2 separate regions of the Homo sapiens genome follow, and region 2 is linked to region 1. Evidence: promoter capture Hi-C in 16 types of primary human blood cells and fetal thymus (Javierre and others, 2016). All regions are on one chromosome and are shown on one strand. The core of a region is centred on a gene start or on the middle of the fragment in contact, and the rest is flanking DNA. Distances in the headings are between cores, read along the strand shown. Region 1 holds the start of CHIC2 (cysteine rich hydrophobic domain 2). Region 2 overlaps CPEB2-DT (CPEB2 divergent transcript).

Region 1 (6,943 bases), core at 3,547-6,046:
GACCCTTCCAGACCTCACCCTCTGTGTCTCTTCATCTGGCTGTTTATTTGTAACCCTTAAAAGATCCTTCTTGGCTGGGTGTGGTGGCTCATGCCTATAATCTCAGTACTTTTTGGAGACCAAGGTGGGTAGATTACTTGAGCCCAGGAGTTGGAGACTAGCCTGGGCAACATGGTGAAACCCCATCTCTACAAAAAATATAAAAATTAGCTGGATGTGGTGGTGCATGCCTGCATTCCCAGCTACTCGGGAAGCTGAAGTGGGAGCATTGCTTGAGCCCAGGGAGGTTGAGGCTGCAGTGAATGGTGATTGTACCTCTGTCTCAATAAATAAATAATAAATAAATAACTATTGGACTGCAGTGAATGGTGATTGTACCTCTGTCTCAATAAATAAGTGAAATGAAATGAAATGAAATATCCTTCTTAATAAACTGGTAAACCTGTTTCCCCGAGTTCTGTGAGCCGCTCTAACAAATTAGTTGAACTTGACGAGGGTGTTGTGGGAACCCCAATTTATAGCTGGTCAGTCAGAAGTTCTGGAGACCTGGACTTGTGACTGGTGTTTGAAGTGGAGGGTGCAGTCTTGCGGACTGAGCCCTCAACCTGTGGGATTTGATGCTATCTCCAGGTAGAGAGTGCTGGAATTGAATTAGGACATACAGCTGGTGCCCACTGCAGAACTGATTGCTTGCTTGTTGGTGGAGAAAACCCCCCAACACATCTGGTCACAGAGAGTCTTCTGTGTTGGTTGTTGTTGTTAAGCAGGAGAATAGGAAAAAGCACATTGAGTGTATTTTCCACACAAATAGGCTGCCACACAAAATACCATAGACTGTGTCTTAGTCCCTTTGGGCTGCTATAATCAAATATCATAAACTATGTGACTTATAAACAAACATTTATTTCTCATAGCTTTGGAAACTTGGAAGTTCAAGATCAAACGGCTGGTAGCTTTGGTTTCTGGTGAGGGGCTTCGTCCTTGTATATGGTTGTCTTCTTGCTGTGTTCTAAGATAGTGGAAGGGGCAAACCAGCTCTCTGGGGCCTCTTTTATGAGGGCACTAATCCCATTCATGAGGGCTCAGCCTTCATAACCTAATCACCTCCCAAAGGCCCTAATATTTCCTAATACCATCACCTTGAGGGCTAGGATATCAACATACAAATTTGGGGGGATGTAAACATTCAGTACATCGTAGCCTGGGTGGCTTAAACAACAGAAATTTAGCTCACAGTTCCTGATGATTTGGTTCCTGGTGAGAGTTCTCTTCCTGGCTTGCAGATGACTGTCTTCTTGCTGTGTCCCCATGGCACAGAGAGATCGAAAACTATCTAGTATTTCTTCTTGTAAGGGCACAAATTCCATCATGAGGGCCCCAGCCTCTTGACCTCATCTCAACCTAATTACCTCCAAAGGCTCCATTTCCAAATACCATTACATTGAGGGTTAGGGCTTCAACATATGAATTTGGGGGGGGGGACAAAATTCAGTCCATAGTACATGCACGATCTCATTTGATCTTCCAGAACCCCATGACATAGTTTCCATTTGAAGATGAAGAAAAGGAAGCTTAGAAAGGTGAAGCTGCCAATGGCCACTCTGCTAGGTAGAAATGGAACTGGGAAGTTTTCAAGTCTAAGGAATTAACTAAGCAATATTTGCCTTAAAAACAAGTCTTGCTGACTCCTGAGGCCTGACATTATCCAGTTTGGTTTTGAGCCATTTGGTCTAAAGGTAAATATGAAAATATGTGAGGCAAGAATATAAAGAGAAACTCCAATGAAGAGGAGGCTATGGAGGGATGGGCACTTAGCAGGGTGCAAGTGAGTACCTGGACACAGAGGGAGAGGATCCTGGAAAAGTGGCTTATCTCCAGGAAGAAATTGGGGGAGGAGTTTTACAGGAAACTGGATCTTGGAAGGTTGGCAGGGCGGAGGTGGAGGGTTGGAATTACGATGTCAACTCTCATCAGGAAAATGTTTGACTCATGTTCGCTCACCCCTTTGGCCTTCTTCCTAGGTCCCACACCCTTTTGCTGGCTCTGACAGGTTTTTCAGAACAGGAAAAAGAAGAAAACACACACACACACACACACACACACAGACACACACACACAGAAAGGAAAAAAGAAAAAGAAAAGGCAATTCCCTGCCTCTACCGTATACCCAGGCCGTGGGAGTTACAAAGATCTCTCTGTTGAATAGATCTTAGAATAAGAACATTTCTCCCACATCCAGCCAGTGTGAAGATAAGAGTGAGGTTCTCACAGTCCTCTGAAGCCTAATTAAGTCACAGTGTTCTGGAAAGAGCACTAGTAACACTGTATCTCAATTCAGATAACATTTATTAAGCTCCTTTTCTGAAGCAGGAACTGTGGAAGGTGCTGGAGTTCTAAGGAGCTCTGTGTGGCTTCCTCCGTCTTTGGGAAGTTGTCAGCTATGTGATGATTTAGATACTTTGGGGCACTAGCCCCTTATCTTGGCCACTGTTTCTACATAAGGGTGAATTCTCAGCCACAGCCAGGTGTGGGCTGTGCCAGGACATACTGACCTTATTTCCTCTTATTCTCTTTCTTATCTTCCCATTTGCAGCTGTTCCTTTAACTGAGTGCAGCCACTAGTCTCCTGGTTCCTGCCAAGGAGGAAATTCAGAGGCTGAGGAGGGAGGATCGCTTGAGCTGAGGAGTTCAAGGCTGCAGTGAGCTATGATGGTGCCACTGCACACCAGCCTAGGTGAGAGAGTGAGACTCTGTCTTAAAAAAAAAAAAAAAAAAGACATTCAGGAAAGCTTGGACCACCAGTATACTCAATTAGACCATTAAATCTTAAATCGTCACATGGCCTTGAGAAAGCCACATAGCATCTCTGAAATATAGCATATCATAGCATCTCTGAAACATAGCATATCTGAAAATAAATACACCCTCTTTGCTTACCTCACAGGTTCTTGGGGGAATATTAAATGATATATTATGTACGTGCTTTATAAGCAGTAAAATATTACATAATGCTGTGGTAACCCTCACAGGGTTGATAAGCTAGGGAGCCTTAAGCATCACCTATTACCCCGTATTTATTGTGTACTGGGCCTTCTTCTAGGCACTTCACCGATCTTAAGCCCTTGAATCTGCTGAGCATCCCAATGGGGCAGGTACTGAACAGGGAAGTTAAGTGGCTTGTCTAGGGTCACACAGTAAGTGGCAGAGCTGACATTCAAGGCCAGGTAGTCAGGTTCCAGAACACACATTGTTAAACACCAGACCAAGCTGCCTCCTGTGTGCCCCACTGACACTTCCTGTGTCCTCCTCCATGAGCCCCTGGCAGAGATGACAATTGCTTGCCTTAACAATAGATAAGCTACCAGAAGTCAGGGCCTGTGCCTCATTCACACACGTCCACAGTGCCTGCCACATAGCTAGAGTTCAGTAGATATTTGTTGAATGAACAAATACCCTCCAGGGAGGGATACAATAAGTCTGATACAACTACTGTATTTTTCCTTCATTTTTTCTTGGCTAACCACACTCATTTCCTTCAGTTGTTTCCAAAAGGAGGTTGGCATCTCTCACTGTCCTCATTGACCTCCTTTGCACTTTCTCCACGTCAACAGTGACCCATCTAAAGCCGACTACTGTGACATGAACACTGCACTTGAAGAGCCTGACCAGCGCTGGGCTCAGTAGAACTATCCTTTCTTCTCCCATGGTGTATCCTCACTGTCCAGGACTCTCTTCTCAGAAGCCCACTCCTTCCCCTGTGCTGTTTATATGCTTAATGAAACCAAGTACCCAAAGTGACCGTTCAACTGTTACTAGGCAGCTAAGTAGACTCCATTAAACCTTTTCCTTCCTTCCTCCCCTTCTTTCTTTCTCTCCCATTCTTCTTTCATTCTTCTCGTCCTTCCTTCTATCCTTTCTTCCTTCCTGCCTCCTTTTCTTCCTCTCCTCTGCCCTTTCTTTCAGGTCTTTTTTGTGGTAGGAACTGGTAAGAAAAGGAAAGGAATTCCCTAAGATTTTAAGGAAACAACAACAAAAACCAGGTTATGTTTGGTGAGAGAGTTGGGGCAAGAAACTGCATCTTCTAATATGGAATCCAGGTAATTTATCAGTTTTTTTTCATAGCATGACTACGGTGAGATTTCTTGTAAGAAAAAAAAAAAAATACCAGCATCGCTGGCCTCATATATTGGATTATACTTAAGGGGATCAAGGGATAAGATGTTTGAATTTGGAGATGTCTTGAAAAATCCTGTGGTGAGCACAAATGTTTGCAGTGTCTCTGCTGGACTCCTCAAATTGGGAAAAAAGAGACTCTGGTTCTCATCATAGACTCAAAACCTGAGGAAAAGCGAGATGCGATTATTAGATAAACTGGCAATGACACGCACAAAAATGTGTCTATTCCAGCCAGGGCTTTTCTTTTCAGTTGTTTGTTTTGGTTAGAGATGACTTTGGGGAACTGCATGTCCCACTGGACATTCCAAGCTGCGTTGTCGGAGTCGCGGGTCGCGGCCTCCAGTCAGCGGAGCCGCCGCCCCCAGGGTCCGCCACCCAGAAGTCGGCGGAGGGGGGCCCGCCGGCGGGAGCGCGCGCCCCGGTCGCCGTCTGCGGGTAGAAGCAGAGGAAAGACGGTGGCCTGGGAGCGCGCGAGGCCGCACGTGCGCGCGCCCGCCCGCCCGCCAGCCAGTCCGCTCGCCCACGCGCCCACGCACGCGCCCGCCCGCCCGTTGGCCCGGGAAGTCTCGCGATGCCGTAGCCGGCTGCTCCCGCTGCGGGTGGCTCGGGCTGTTGCTGTGGTTTCCTGAGTTGCTGCTGCTGCGGCGGCGGCAGCGGCGTCTGTGCTTGTGGAGGTGTCGGCCTCTGGGCGGATGTTGACATTGTGTTGTTGTTATTGCTGATGGTAATGGCGGCGGCGGTGGCGGCGACGGTCCAGACCCCATCCCCTCTGTAGCCGGAGCCGAGACAGCCGACAGCGAACTCCGCGGCCTCGGAGCCGGCGGCAGCGGCGACTCCCCTCAGCCTCCGCCGCCTCGCCCGCCGGTACCCCGGCGCCAACCCCGGGAGTCAGGCCCTTTGGGCAGGGGAGCTCGGAGGCTCAGGATGGCGGATTTCGACGAAATCTATGAGGAAGAGGAGGACGAGGAGCGGGCCCTGGAGGAGCAGCTGCTCAAGTACTCGCCGGACCCGGTGGTCGTCCGCGGCTCCGGTCACGTCACCGTGTAAGGCCCGGAGGAGGGCGAGGGCGGGAGGTGCGGGCTGGGGTGGGCCCCGTTACTCCACGGGAGCCCCGTTTCCCCTGTGTCCGTCTGGTGTCGGGGGCCTTCCGAAAGAGTAGGCAACCAGGAAGTGAGAACTTGGCTTATTTTCATTTGTTTGGGTCTCCGAAGTGGGGACGGACGCTGTCCTTCCTCCTCCACACACCCCTTTAGCAGGCCCTACAGGCCCGGGCGATGTGACGATCCCAGTAGGCACGGGTTTTCATTAGGGTCTGCCCTGCGGGCCACCCTTCCTCTTCAGGGTGGAAGTACGTGTATTGACAGGGAGCCTCCTTGTTTTCTCGCCCAGTTACCCTGTGGTTGTCTGTGCCTTTGCACCCAGTGACATGGCTCAGAGGCCAGATCTGGGCCGTGTGAGACCCCAGTGACAATTGGCAGCGAAGCTCCGTTTCGTGTCTATTTCACACATACCCACAGGTCTCCCAGTTTTTCCACTAATTTCCGCAGAACTAATGCAAGTTCTTGTAATTGTACGTGATAAAAATATATAGTTGAACACAAATTTAAGATATACAGAAAGAAATATGTTTACAACAACAACAACAACAACTACGTGAGGGACATACACTCTGCTCAGGTTACTGAGGGAAAATTGTAGTCCTGAAGCTCCTCCTTGGGGCACGAACTTGGGGCTTGTTAATTTGGAAAGTCCCACTAGTAACATTAAAAGTCTGATATTAATAAGGAATGAAAGCTTTCGGAAAGACCATGACAAAGGAATGTGAAGCCTTGAACCAAATAATGAGCTGTCCGGAAGCAGGAAGTTTTGTAATGTTTCACTATGAAGTCCACAGTTTTGTACCACTTGATGTATTACATTGATACTCTCTCATTTTAGATCTCTTGTTCAAATAATAGATCAGACTTCCATACTTGTCAGGTATCTCTGTACTTCTTCACCTTTTCAGTGAAACAAAAGAGCCAGCAAGTCTGAGAATGTCTGGAATAGTCTTCATTATATTTTGGTGAAGAGTGAGTGGGATGTGCTGTGAATAACTTAGGGAAACAGTAAGACTTCTCATATAAGTTTGTCAGCAAAATAATTGCATTTCTCGTATGACCAGCCATATTGTTGTTTGAGTATGCTTATGTAATGCTTTAATTTCTTTAGTACCTGTTAGTTTATGTTCAGGTGACTTAACAGGGTAAAAACACTGCATAATTGCCATCACAGCACCATGACAAGACAGTGGAATTTAATTCACCACAATAATACTTTCTAAGTGTTGTCACCAGCTTAAGAAGTATAACCAAATATCATGGATATTAAACTTTTAACATATATCACAGAATTCATAACCTGCCATTTGATTTTATTTTGACTTTTAGGACCTTTTTGCACTGTTTTAAGCCTAAGGAGTATGTGGATGCTTAAAGAAGTGATTTCCAAACTTTGTCATGCCATCTATCCCTCCTTCTACATTCCTCATGTCAAAGAAAAGCTAGAGAATTTTGTCATTTAAAAAGGCGACGCTGTAGTTGTAATGTTTCCTCTGTTAAGGAGAAGAAAAGCTAAGCACTTTGTTGGGCAAGTGGAAAATGCAATAGTGGGCAAAGTGCTCAGAACCTAGGTAATCAGTAAACTTGATTGTAGTTGGCTACGTGGAGAGGTTAATAGGGTAGAAAATAATTATTAGTGGTTTTCAAACTTAGCTGTCCATTAGAAT
Region 2 (6,977 bases), core at 2,703-5,202, about 39 Mb after region 1:
GAAAATTGGTTCAACTTATTAATCTCAAAATCATTTTTAACAGTCAGGCAAAATGTAGAACTGGAGAAGTATTTTTATTCTAAATTACAATGTCTAGAAAATAACCTGAGCTCAGAATTTAAAATATAAATGGTTATTTTCAGAGTATATATTGACATATTAAATATTCATTTTTTAAAAGGTATTGTGCAGGAAAAAAAACTACTTCTGCAACTAAGGAATGTAAAGTCTTAACAACGGATGATTTTTTTCCAAGTACAGTTGTATTTGATTGGAATCATTTGCAGATCCAACAACAAATCTTGAAATAGGGGGAAAATACAGGTATAAACCTTAGCTCAATTATCCACTAACACCGCAGTTAGTAAAGAGGAGAGAGCACATACTTTTAAAAGCTAACTGGTGCCTTTCTGGGCTAGAGTTTTGAACAAAAACAAGATTTCTTAGTGCTCTGGTACTAGTTTTGTCTTAGAGGATTTAGAGCTCTCTGAAACGGGGAAAAGCCATCAAGTTTGTTATTACATAATAATGTCAAACTTCATATTAAATACACCAAATTCCAAATCCTGCCAGGGCCTCTACTCACTACTTTTGTGAGGGCCCCATTTTTTTAGAGCAGAAAGTTACTTTCTGACATCTTGTAAGCTGGTGATCTTGCCCTTATTGAAAATATTCAAATGAAAAGGTTTCCTAGGGTGGAGAGTGGAGTGGGGTAGGGAGAAGGAGCAGCAAATACTGAGGAGGGACTATGGTCCTCTAGCAGTTTCCATGCCAAGATCTTATGAGTCCATTCAATGATTTTTTTGGTTTTTTACATGAAAATATTTTGACTCATGATCATTAACTAGGACCTTGACTTTGTATTTGACAGTCCCTTATTCATTTACTCCCACTGTCCTGGGCAAGTATTTTTAAAAGTATTTTTGCTACAACCCAATATATGTGCAAGTACACACTCATGCAACTGAAATAAAGCTGCTATTAAGCAATTCTTTTAATAATGCAACAAACTCCTTTTTATAATTCTATTTTCATTTTAAAATCACGTTTGATCTCAAATTACAAAGTTGGTTTTAACACCCTCTATCAGATTATGAACTGAAAAACCACTGTCCTAGACCATTTCAAACATTCTGCTCAATCTGAAAACCTCTTGTCACATCTCTCCTACATGCATCTGCTAGCATGTAGCACTCTCAGCTGCTGAGCTACATGCTTATTTCACTGAGAAAAAAGAAGCAACCACAGGAAAACTTCCACAGTCTCCCTGCATCTGTCCCTGCACACCTTGCCTTCCCTCTCGATACAATGGATGGCCCATCTGCCCATACTCCTGTCTAAGGCCAGCCTCTCCACTGGCGGAGCAGATCCTACCTCTAACCTACTCAAGACATGGGCTCCAACAGTTTTCTCTCTCTGTCCTTCATCATGACCTCTTTCCTCTCCAGGAAACACTTCCATGTGCACAAAAACTTGCTTTACTAGTTCTCACCTTTGAAAAGTAAAGCCAAAACCTTTTGACCTTATATTCTCCCTCCTTTAGCTACTGCCTTCTTTTTCTGCTTTTACATTGCCTGAACGACTTGCCCATTTGACTGAGTGTCTCATAGATACCTCAAATTAAACACGTCAAAAATTAAACTCCCTGCCTCACTAGGCCCAATCCCTGTGGCGCTCCATTGTTCTGGTTGCTCAGGCCAAAAACCCTGGAGTCATTCTTCACTTCAATCCACTTCTGTCCTTCTTGCATCATATCCAAGCCATCAGAACATGTTGCTTGTCCTACCTTTAAATTACTGGCATAACCTAGAGATACCGTGGGTTTTGTTCCAGATTACCACAATAAAGCAAATATCCCAATAAAGCAAGTCACACCAATTTTTTGGTTTCCCAGTGCATGTAAAAGTTATGTTTACAGTATATTATACTCTAAACATAAGTTCTCAATTATAGTCTAAACATAACTTGTAATTACATTTAAATAAGTGCACAGTAGCATTATTCTGAAAAATATACACACATTAATTTAAAAATACTGCTAAAAAGTGCTAATGATCATCTGAGCCTTCAGTAAGTCATAATCTTTTTGTCAGTGGAGAGTCTTGTCTCGACATTCATGGCTGCTGACTGATCAGCATGGTGGTGGCTGAAGGCGGAGGTGGTTGTGGCAATTTCTTAAGACAAAGATAGAGTTTGTCACATAAATTGAATCTCCCTTTCATGAAAGATTTCTCTGTACCATGCAATGCTGTTTGATAGCATTTTGTCCACAGAACTTCTTTCAAAATTAGTCAGTCCTCTCAAAACCTGCTAATGCTTTATCATCTAAATTTATGTAATATTCTAAATCTTTTTTGTCATTTCAGCAGTGTTCATAGCATCTTCATGAGGAGTAGATTCCGTCTCAAGAAACCACTTTCTTTGCTTATCCATGAGCAGCAACTCCTTCTCCATTCAAGTTTTATTGTAATATTGCAGCAATTCAGTCACATCCTCAGGCTCCACTTCTAATTCTAGTTCTCTTGCTATTTTTACTACATCTGCAGTAACTTCCTTCACTGAAGTCTTGAACCCCTCGAAGTCATCCAAGAGGGTTGGAATCAGCTTCTTCCAAACTCCAGTTAATGTTGACACTTTGACCTCCCATGAGTCACACATATTCTGAATGGCAGCTAGAATGGTGAATCCCTTCCAGAAGGTTTTCAATTTGCTTTGCCCTTATCCATCAGAGAAATCACTATGGCAGCTATAGCCTTATGAAATTTATTTCTAAAATAATACTTGAGGCTGTCCTGGTGACAACTTAGTGATTTTAAATTTTAAAATGAAAATAGAATTATAAAGAGGAGTTAGTTGCATTATTAGAAGAATTGCTTAATAGCAGCTTTATTTCAAAACAATCTCAGCACTTTGGGAGGCCAAGGCGGGCAGGTCACTTGAGGTCAGGAGTTCAAGACCAGCCTTGCCAACATGGTGAAAACCATTCACTTCTAAAAATACAAAAATTAGCTGGGTGTGGTGGCGCATGCCTGTAATCTCAGCTAATTGGGAGGCTGAGGCAGGAGAATCGCTTGAACCTGGGAGGCGGAAGTTGCAGGGAGCCGAGATAGTGCCACTGAACTCCAGTCTTATAGCCAGAGCCAGATTTTGTCTCAAAAATAATAATAATAATACTTGAAACTCATAATTACTCCTGAATCCATGGGCTGCAGAATTGAAGTTGGGTTAGCAGGTATGAGAACAACAATTATCTTCTTGTACATCTCCATCAGAACTCTTGGGTGACCAGGTATATAGTCAATGAGCAGTAATATTTTGAAAGCAATCTTCTTTTCTAAGCAGTAGATCTCAACAGTGGACTTAAAATGTTCAGTAAACTATGCTCTTTCCAAGTTTTGTGGTTCCATTTACCAAGCACAGGCAGAGTAGACTTAGCATGATTCTTAAGGGCCCTAGGATTTTCAGAATGATTAATGAGCATTGGCTTCAAGTTAAGGTCACCAGCTACATTAGCCCTTAAGAAAAGAGTCTGTCTTTTGAAGCTTGAAGCTAGGCATTGACTTTTCCAGCTATGAAAGTCCTAGATGATACCTTCTTCCAATAGAAGGCTGTTTTTTCTACGTGAAAACTTATTTAGTGTAGCCACCTTCATCAGTTATCTTAGCTAGATTTCTAGATAACTTGCTGCAGCTTCTCCATAAGCACTTTCTGCTTTACCTTGCACTTTTATGTTACGAAGACAGCTTCTTTCCTTAAACACGAACCGACCTCTGCGAGCTTTGAACTTTTTTCTTCTGCAGCTTCCTCACCTCTCTCAGCCTTCACAGAATTGAAGAGAGTTAGGGCCTTGCTCTGGAGTAGGCTTCAGCTTAAGGGAATGTTGTGGCTGGTTTAATTTTCTCTATCCAGACCATTCACACTTTTTCTATATCAGCAATAAAGCTGTTTCACTTTCTTATCACTCGTGTTCACTGGAATAGTACTTTTAATTTCCTTCAAGAACTTTTCCTTTGCATTCAGAACTTGACTAACTACTTGGTGCAAGAGGCCTAGCTTTCAACCTATTTCAGCTTTCCACATACCTTCCTCACTAAGCCTAATTATTTCTAGCTTTTCATTTAAAGTGAGAGACATGTACCTCTTCCTTTCACTTGAATACTTAGAGGTCGTTAGAGTGTTATTAATTGGCCTAATTTCAATATTGTTTTGTCTCAGGGAATAGGGAAGCCCAAAGCCTTTATTGATTAAATTATTGTCTTATATGGTTGTGGTTTGTGATGTCCCAAAACAGTTACACTAGTAACATTAAATATTATGATCACAGATCCCCAAAATAGATATAATAATAATGACAAAGCTTTAAGTAACGCAAGAATTACCAAAATGTAACACAGAGATACAAATTGAGCCATGCTGTTGGGAAAATTGTGCTGATAGACTTGCTTGATGCAGGGTTGCCACCAACCTTCAATTTGTGAAAAACCCATTATCTGAGAAGCACAATATAGCAGAGCACAATAAAGCGAGGAGTGCCTATATATCCAGAATCCAAGCACTTCACCCCATTCTCACCACAAGCAGCCTGGACCAGGCTACATCGTTGCTCTCACCTACTAACTCGTATTCCAGCTTCTGATCTTGCCCCTCTCCAGTCTGTTCCCAACATAGCAGCCAGGATGATACTTCTGAAGTGGAAGACAGGTCATGTCAACTCCTCTGACTAAATACTTACATTTTCTCAGAATAGAAGTCAAAACATTTTAATAACCAAAAGGTTCTTCAGAATCGCTCCTGCCACCACTAACCCCTCTGAAAGCTTCCCTACAGTGGAATGCTTATTTCTGTAACAGCCCAGGCCAATTCAGCCTTAGGGCCTTTGCCCTCGCAATTCCCACACCTGGAATACTTGTCTCCTAAGTAGCAACAGGGCTCACTTAATCATGTTTTTATCATTTTTTTTCATGTCTCTCTCACGTCTCTGCTAAAAGTCATTTTTCAGTGATGTCTTCCCTGACCACCATTGTAATAAAATGACAACCCCCCGCCGCCACTCTTTCCCAGCCTTCTTATTCCTCATAAGGTGTTTGTGTTTCCATCTGACCCACTATGTACTTGAACTGTTTATCTGTCCTCTCTCTGAGATCACAAGCCCATGAGGAAAGGTCCATGCCTGTTTTGCTCACTGTTGTATCCTCAGCACTTACAACGATGCCTTGCACATAGTAGGCTTTCAAGAGTTGGGAATTGCATGCACTTATTAAAGGGGTTGTTGAATTAATAAATAGCAATTTTAGGAAATGATAGCTAAAAGAATACAATAGTAATACAAGGGTCTGTTTATAAATGGTTAATTTGTTTTCAGGAGCTGTCCAAACACCATGCAGATGCTCCTAGGATTCTTAAACTAGCCAAAAATAATTCCAGGCATTGTCAGATATAGGATAAGTACATGAAGACAGGTAAGTCATCCCAAGACTATAACGCTGGGGAATAGATAACCCTGGAGTACAAGGGGGAAAACTTCTGTCTCAGGAGACTAGAGTTGGGACTCCAGGAACACAGGGGTTCATTACAGGAGCTTGAACAAAGAGAGGAGTCAAGACCCCATCTCATAGAAATGGAACCAGTTCAGGAGGCACTGCAGTTAAGGTCAACTGGATGCCTTACTTCCATGCTGCTGGTTTCTTTCTGTGGCAGAGCCCATGCCCATAAATGTAATTAACCCCACAGAATGGGAAAGCTTTGAGTCTTTAGATGGGAGCTAATTAGCTCTGGTTTGGAGTTGGAAAAGGAGAAAGTAGAAATTAAGATTCATTCTGACCTTGACCAACTTCAAGGTGCTTTATTGATGTGGCACTCAAGAGTAGTACCATCCTCAATTACTTCTAGTTCTCCTACTTTTCTAAACCTTCCTTCATAATTTCCTCCTTCACTTTCTCCTTACATATTCTTTACGTGTGAGAGTTCCTTAGGCTTATGTTTCTGGTCCTTTTCTATATTTCTACCTACTTTTTCTAGATGAATTTATTATCATGTTTTCAAACATCATCTAAATGCTAATGTCTTCCAAATCCATCTCTTTAGCCTCATGGTCAAAATCATATTTCCAACTGCCTGTTTAACAGTTTGACCTGGGTGTCCTTCAGCCACATCAATTCAATGTGTCTATACCTGCATTCAACATCTTCCCCAAAATCTGCTTCTCCTATTTTGCTTCTTGTCTTGGCTGACGTCATCATCACACAACCAGTTTCTCAAGCTGAAACATGAGTCATCCTCTTCCTTCATCTCTCTCACCCTCCAAAAACAATTGTCAACCATGCTCTGTCAATTATACTGCAGAAACGTTACTCAAATGTAATTCCTTCATGTATCTCCGCATTCCCTTGCCTTTCACATTCCTGGAACACAAGTGCCCAATAAGTATTTGTTGATTAGTAATTGCCCAATGAATGCTGTAAGAAGAAAAGATGAAGAAAAGGAGAAAACAAGGTAAGGAAAGGAAGGAGGGAGATGGAAGGAAGGAAAGAGGTAGATGTTTCCAAAGCATGCTTTACAAAGACATGAGCCATTTTGTGGATAACTGTAGCATTGTTACCTTATGTTTACTGGAGAAAAAATAAAATGAATAATCATAATAACAATGACAAAAAAGTTATTTTCCTTCCCAATATTTTTTCCTTGACAATACCAAACTAAAAGTTTCACTCTGGTTATTACGATCTCTATTCTGGTTATTATGCCATACAAAGATGAACTCATTGACAAAGAAAAATATCAAGAATCTTCCCCTGATGACAAAGTGTAGCCCCGAAACATAATAGAAGGTCTGTGTTACCCTTTGTGGCATCCAGGGGATTTATCATCCCACTCCAATACCCCCACCTAGGAGAGAACCTGTCAGCCTCTCCAGTAATTTCTGCCACGATGCTCACTGGGCCCTTACGTAGACTGACTGACTTCTCTATTGCTACTTA

What was found. Contacts are between HindIII fragments. The CHiCAGO score rates a contact against its expected background, and 5 or more counts as called.
Region 2: a fragment that was not itself captured here is called in contact with the fragment with the promoter of CHIC2 in region 1 in 1 of 17 cell types (total CD4 T cells); the score reaches 9.2 in total CD4 T cells.

What each region holds. Positions count from the first base shown.
Region 1 is chr4:54,062,458-54,069,400 of GRCh38, reverse strand. It overlaps CHIC2 (cysteine rich hydrophobic domain 2), which reads left to right and starts at 4,796. Exons shown (of 6, transcript NM_012110.4): 1 at 4,796-5,219. The coding sequence starts at 5,101. RefSeq lists enhancers at 1,692-2,891, 4,888-5,388 and silencers at 4,489-4,728, 4,959-5,088. The HindIII fragment of the contact is 3,181 bases long and covers 2,792-5,972 here.
Region 2 is chr4:14,993,736-15,000,712 of GRCh38, reverse strand. It overlaps CPEB2-DT (CPEB2 divergent transcript), which reads left to right. Exons shown (of 8, transcript NR_038857.1): 4 at 5,363-5,459. Among named protein-coding and RNA genes, the nearest start is that of CPEB2-DT, 4.8 kb to the left of the region's middle. The HindIII fragment of the contact is 815 bases long and covers 3,545-4,359 here.